Regions from separate parts of the Homo sapiens genome. Here region 1 is linked to region 2. The links are contacts of gene promoters, found by promoter capture Hi-C in blood cells and fetal thymus (Javierre and others, 2016). All regions are on one chromosome and are shown on one strand. Each heading gives the region's core, a stretch centred on a gene start or on the middle of the fragment in contact. The rest is flanking DNA. Distances are from core to core; before and after follow the strand shown. Region 1 has its middle 7.2 kb from the start of PRDX3. Region 2 holds the start of BAG3 (BAG cochaperone 3).

Region 1 (3,273 bases), core at 605-3,104, 470 kb after region 2:
GGGGGTTCTCTTGTCCCCAGGGGACATTTGGCAACATCTGGAAACATTTTTCGTTGTCACAAATAAGTGGGTGCCTTCCTTTCACAAGCTTGGCAGGAAGACAGGAACAGACAGACCCCAGAGAAGGAAAGGAAGGCTGAGAGTCGCCCGAACACAGTGGCTCATACCTGTAATCCCAGCACTTTGGGAGGCCAAGGCGGGCAGATCATTTGAAGTCAAGAGTTCAAGACCAGCCTGGCCATGTGCTGAAACACATTGAAAACCCTGTCTTTACTAAAAATACAAAAAAATTTGCCAGGCGTGGTGGCGGGCACTGTTATCCCAGCTACGCAGGAGGCTGAAGCAGGAGAATTGCTTGAACCTGGGAGACAGAAGTTGCAGTGAGCCGAGATGGTACCACTGCACTCCAGCCTGGGTGACAGAGTGAGACTCCGTCAGAAAAAAAAAAAGAAGGCTGAGAGTAGAGTGGGCCCCAAGGTGGTGAACATCAATTGCAGGGGCGGAACCTATTAGAAATGCTTAGGCAAAAGAGCACAGCGTACCGCATCAATGGACAGAATCCACAGTGAGGCCTGGTGCCTGGGAGTGGAGTACTTGAGATATTTCACTAAAGGACAGATGGTCAGTGCTCCTTCATGTCCTCACACAGCCCACATTTATAGTACCATCTCCTATTATGTCCCATCAAGCACATTATGCTCCAACAAATACTGTAGGAGGTCATACAATATTGCTTTAAGAGTTGGGGCACTTGGCCAGGCACGGTGGCTCACGCCTGTAATACCAGCACTTTGGGAGTCCAAGGTGAGTGGATCACGAGGTCAGGAGATGGAGACCATCCTGGCTAACACGGTGAAACCCCATCTCTACTAAAAATACAAAAAAATTAGCCAGGTGTGGTGGCGGGCGCCTGTAGTCCCAGCTACTCGGGAGGCTGAGGCAGGAGAATGGCGTGAACCCGGGAGGCGGAGCTTGCAGTGAGCTGAGATTGCGCCACCGCACTCCAGCCTGGGCGACAGGGCGAGACTCCATCTCAAAAAAAAAAAAAAAAAAAGAGTTGGGGCTCTGGCCTCACACCGGTAATCCCAACATTTTGGGAGGCCAAGGCAGGAGGACTGCTTGAGCCCAGGAGTTTGAGACCAACCTAGACAACATAGGAAGACCCTTCTCTACAAAAACTAACAAAATTAGCTGGGCTTGGTGATACACACTTGTGGTCCCAGCTCCTTGGGAGGCTGAGGTGGGAGGATTGTTTGAGCCCAGGAGGTTGAGGCTGCAGTGAGCCATGGTTGTGCCATTGCACTCCAGCCTGGATGACAGAGAGAGACCCTGTCTCAAAAACAAACAAACAAACAAAAAACAATAAAAATGAAAAGGAATGGGGGCTCTGCAGTCAGCTTTCAAGGTTTAAATCCTGGCTCCTTCCCTTTCCAGTTGTGGGACTTTGGACAAATTACTAAACCTTCCCAAGCATCAGTCTCCTCACCTTGGAAATGGGGATGATGAATTAAAAACAGTACCTGTGGCTGGGTGTGATGGCTCACACCTGTAATCCCTACACCTGGGGAGGCCGAGGCAGGCGGATCACTTGAGGTCAGGAGTTCGAGACCAACCTGGCCAACATGATGAAACCCCATCTCTACTAAAAATACAAAAATTAGCCAGGTGTGGTGGTGTGCACCTGTAATCCCAGCTACTTGGGAGGCTGAGGCAGGAGAATCACTTGAACCCAGGAGTGGAGTTTGCTGTGAGCTGAGATCATGCCATTGCACTTCAGCCTGAGTGACAGAGCAAGACTCTAAAACAAAACAAAACAAAACAAAACAAAAAACAAACCGAAAAAGCACCTGTGTCATAGGGTTGTGCAGACGGAATAGAGATACTGCATTCAACCCAGAGCGTAGCCCCATAGTGTGGTCACTGAAGATAACAGTAAACCAAAGGGACAAAGGTCACTAGTCACTTCCACCTGCCATCTTCCCCTTCACCTTCCCCAAGCAGCAGGATAGATGATTTCTCTGTGAAGCCCTTCTTGGCCCCTTTCTCTAAACCATGATAGCACTTCACTTGCACCTCTCTTTTATTTAATATAACGAACACTATGTGCCTGCTGACTGTGCTAATGCCTTTAAAATATGAACTCATTTATTCCTCACAAAAGCCCTTGGGGTAAGCACTAACATCATTTCAATTTTACAGATGGGAAAATGTGCTAAGTAACTTGCCCAAGGCCACGTGCCTGCAGCTAGCAGAGCTGGTGTGTCAATCTCAGCTGTCCACACTCAACCATTATGCCTCTTTCATGCCTCTTAAAATGCTGAATCTTGGACTGGGTTTTTTTTTTAATGATTTTATCAGTATTCCTTGGATACACACACAGTTCCTCGGCAGCAGGGTCTAAGTGATCCTCTCCAGTACATGTTTATTAATGATTAAAATCACATTGTTGGCTAGGGACGGTGGCTCATGCCTGTAATCCCAGCACTTTGGGAGGCCGAGGCGAGAGGATCACTTGAGGTCCGGAGTCCAAGACCAGCCTGGCCAACATGGCAAAACCTGGTCTCTACTAAAAATACAAAAATTAGCTAGTTGTGGTTGTGGGCACCTGTAATCCCAGCTACTCAGGAGGCTGAGGCAGAAGAATCTCTTGAACCCAGGAGGCAGAGGTTGCAGTGAGCCGAGATTGCACCACTGCACTCCAGCCTGGGCAACACAGCAAGATTCTAAAAAAAAAAAATCACATTGTTAATTGATCCAATACCAGAGGGCTCTCTATTTGGTACCTAATAGGACAGGAAACAGATTACTTCAGAGGCTAAAATGGGCAGGAATCATGCAGGAAATCTAACTGAAGGCAGCCGCAGGTGAATGGGGCTACATGGAAGACGGAAAGTAATGTTACCTTGAAGCAGCCAGGCACGGTGGCTCACACCTGTAATCCCAGCACTTTGGGAGGCCGAAGCGGGCCGATCACCTGCGGGCCAATCACCTGAGGTCAGGAGTTCGAGACCAGCCTGACCAACATGGCAAAACCCCATCTCCGCTAAAAACACAAAATTAGCTGGGCGTGGTGGTGCATGCCTGTAATCCCAGCTACTCAGGAGGCTGAGGTAGGAGAATCACTTGAACCTGGGAGGCAGAGGTTGCAGTGAGCCGAGATCGCACCATTGCACTTTAGCCTGGGCAACAAGAGCAAAACTCCGTCTCAAAAAAAAAAAAAAAAAAGAATTGCTTTCAGAGCCAATTATGAGGCCCTCAAGTAATGTTACCTTG
Region 2 (3,522 bases), core at 687-3,186:
GAAATGAGTGTCAGTTTCACCCAAAAATGGGTGGAACAGACACACAAAAAGGTATATGTAACTGTGCCCATCCCAGCTAATTACAGCCTCTTGTACTAATTTTCAAGAATAAATATACAACTAATCTCTCGTAAATGTAAACTGCTGCCTGTACACGGTCTCACTGCTGGGCACCGGAGTTTTATCAATATTGTTAAAACAAAAAGTGCATAAAGATGAAGGGAAATAATACAGGTCTTTCTTCTAAAACAATGGGTTACACAGCAGTTTTAATTTGGTGAGTTTTTAAATCTTCAAAATAATTTACCAGCTCTTTGCTGCTTTTATCTTGCCCAGACGGCGTTAACAATTCAGCTTTAAGTATAACATATTTATTTTAAAAACTTTTTATCCTGAAAGCTCAAATTTATAAAAAATTGAAAGAATAGTATAACTAACTCTGATTTTTGAAAATTAACACACTCATTCCAAATTTACATTTTCAAATTTCATGCTCTTGGGGATTAAGAAGTATATATCCTTGCATGTATGTAAATGAGACATACTTCTGCTGTATTCACAAGAGTATCATTAGTCAGTTATTTGTGTACTGGTAACAAATCCTAAGTATTTTAATACCATAACAAGGCAGGAAGCGAATGCCATTATAAATATACACGTATCATTCTCTTTCTCTCCAGTGTGAGGCAATGTGGTAAGGCAATGGCCAACTGTAAGACAGTCTCAGATCTCTAGTCTAGATCTCTAGAAACTGCTGGGGAGAAGCACACCCTGTTTTTTATTTTACAAATCATACTAGGATACGTTCATATTGAAAGCACTTTCAAACAATAATACAATTTTAATTTAAAATACACACACACACATATATATATGAATGTTTTGACACCAGCCTCCAGAGTCATTGGGTGCCTAACATGGGACAGTAGCCAAGATACCCCTCAACCAAGTTGGAGAACTTGAGCGGTAAAATTCCCCCCAAAACCACCATCCAAGCTTGCGAGTGTCCCCCTCGAGTCCGCGGTCAGCAGGGTGCGCCGCGGGTCCCGGGCCCGGAGGCCGAGCGGGCAGCAGGGGCCACGGTGGGCCGGGGCCTCCGGAGCTGACCAGGCCGGCCGCCCCTCTCCCAGCCCTAGAGCGCGAGGCCAGCGCTGGACACCCGGCCTTCCGCCCTGGAGTCGAGCCGTGGACGGCACCGGAGCCACTGCGGGGTCGCTTCCCGGGCCACCGAATCCCGGGGCCTCCTTTCGCCCCGACGCCTGTCAAGGGCGGGTCCGGAGCGGGGACTCGTCCGGGCGCAGCGGGAGTGTGTGGCGGGGCGCGGAGCCGGTGTCCGCCCGCGAGGGGCCTTCGCCGACCCCCGGGCCCCGCCGCCTCGCGTCCCCCCGGCCCAGCCCACTCCCCGCCGCCTGCCGTCGAGGTGGCGCCACCGACCAGGGCGGGCCGCGGGCCCGGCTCACCTTGGGGCCCTCAGAGGGCACGCGCGGGTCGTTCCACGTAGTGGTGCGGCTGTTGTGGTCCACGAAGAAGGGCCAGCCGGTCTGCGGGTCGATCTTGATCTCCCATCCGGGGGGCAAAGGGTCGCGGTCACCGTTGCCGGACGCCACCTGCATCATGGGCGAGTGGGTGGCGGCGCTCATGCTGGGTTGGGGTCTGCCCGCTGGGGCGCGGGTGCGGGGCGCTGGCTCCGGGCGCCGAGTCTCTGGCCGGGCCGCCGCCGTGGGCCCCTCTCCGCCGCCGACGTGTCCGGGAAGCCGGCGCCGGGCACCTTTATGAATTAAAGGCGGGGGTGACGTGGCCAGAGAGGGGTGGAAGTGTCTGGAAATAGCCTCCTCGCTGCCAGAGGGGAAGGAGGAGATAAAGGGAGGTAGCAACTGGCCGGCTAGAAACTTCTGGTCCAGTCCAGAGAAGTTGGCCGCGGCCCGGGGTTGGATGCGGAGCTCCGCCCTGAGTCATCGGCTATAATCGCGGCGGGCGGGGCAGAGGAGCGGGGGCGGGGCCTCGGCCCGCTCGCCCCTCCCCCACCTCCTCCCGCCCCTCCCCCTTCCGACTCGTGCGCGTGCCCGGGCCGGAGTCGCCGCGGGCGGGCGCGGGCGCGGCTTCGGGGTCCGCCTGCGGGTGGGAAGCCGGACGAGCTGGACTGGGGCCGTCCTCCGTGCGCCCCGGGCGGGTTTCGGCTTTCATAGTCGCTCTCTCCCTCTCCTTTGCGCCGAGTGAGTGTTCCCGGGGCCGGAGCCCGTGCTCCCCGTGCCTGCCGCCCGTCCTTCCTGTACAAACAAAACCATCTCGCCCACCTCCACCCCCTCCCCCATATATGATAGCCGAGGACCCTGAGGGCTGTCCGGGAGGAGCGCGGGGACTCTCATCTGACACCGGAAGGAAGCCAGGGAGAAAATGGAAGTCAGTGCAAACTCACCTGCCTTCCTTTGGAAACTTCAAGAAAAAAAGAGATTGTATCAACTGATGGCTTTTAGTCTCCTAGACTAAAAAGAAAGTTTCGTTGCAGCTTTAAAGATAAATCACATTTTCTTGGGTCTGGATCTTTTTTATGGTAGAGATTGGTTCTTGCTATCTTATATCTTGACCCTGATTTGGGAAGTAAAGACCGAATAACCATGACATTTTTTGTTTGGTTTATTCAATTGCACTTGTAACCTGTCAAAGGAGAAAATTACAACACATTTAAAGATCTTTTTTGTTGTTGTTGTTGTTGATTTTCATTTTTTAACTTTTATTGTTAAAGATCTTATTTGTGATTCTAGAAATTGGGCAACATCTCCATTAAATTAGAATAAGTGCTCCCATGAGCTGAGCAGAAGAGGTTGGTTTTATAGACAGAGAAGGGCTGAAGAAAGCAGAAACAAAGAACCAAGACTGGATTGGTTGTTTCAAAATTACTTTCCTTGTAAGGAGGGGACAGAGAGACAGAATCATAGAAAAATAACTGATGAGGGCTTGCCACCATGGCTCATGCCTATAATGCCAGCACTTTGGAAAGTCAAGACTGGAGGACCTCTTGAGTCCAGGAGTTTGAGACCAGCCTGGACAACACAGTAAGACCCCCATCTCTGCATAAACAAAAAATAAGCCAGGTGCAGTGGCTTATGCCTGTAGTCCCAGCTACTCAGGAGGCTGAGGTGGGAGGCTCATTTGAGCCCAGGAGTTTGAAGCTGCCATGAGCTATGATTTTGCTCTTCATGCCAACCTAAGCGACAGAGCAAGACCCTATCTCTTTAAAAGAAAGAGAGAGAAAGAAAGAGAGAAATGATTGAGAGAAATGTAACATCAGGTTACATACTTCAGATTACTGTACAGTTGACCCTTAACATGGGTTTGAATTGAGCAGGTCCACTTGTACATGGATTTTTTTTCAATAAAAGTTACACCGATGTGCTTGCCTCTCCAGTCTCCCCTTCCACCTCCTCCACCTCTTCTGTCTCTGCCACCCCTTGACAGGAGAATCAACCCTTCCTCTTCCTTCCCCTCCTCAGCCTCCACGTGAAGATAATGAGGATGATGACG

Evidence for each region. Contacts are between HindIII fragments. The CHiCAGO score rates a contact against its expected background, and 5 or more counts as called.
Region 1: a contact is called between a fragment that was not itself captured here and the fragment with the promoter of BAG3 in region 2, in 1 of 17 cell types (non-activated CD4 T cells). The highest score is 5.2, in non-activated CD4 T cells.

Annotation. Positions count from the first base shown.
Region 1 is chr10:119,184,344-119,187,616 of GRCh38, reverse strand. No RefSeq gene overlaps it. Among named protein-coding and RNA genes, the nearest start is that of PRDX3, 7.2 kb to the right of the region's middle. The HindIII fragment of the contact is 3,528 bases long and covers 91-3,273 here.
Region 2 is chr10:119,649,794-119,653,315 of GRCh38, reverse strand. It overlaps BAG3 (BAG cochaperone 3), which reads right to left and starts at 1,936. Exons shown (of 4, transcript NM_004281.4): 1 at 1,461-1,936. The coding sequence starts at 1,640. RefSeq lists a silencer at 1,884-2,183 and enhancers at 2,384-2,463, 1,844-2,798. The HindIII fragment of the contact is 5,264 bases long and covers 999-3,522 here.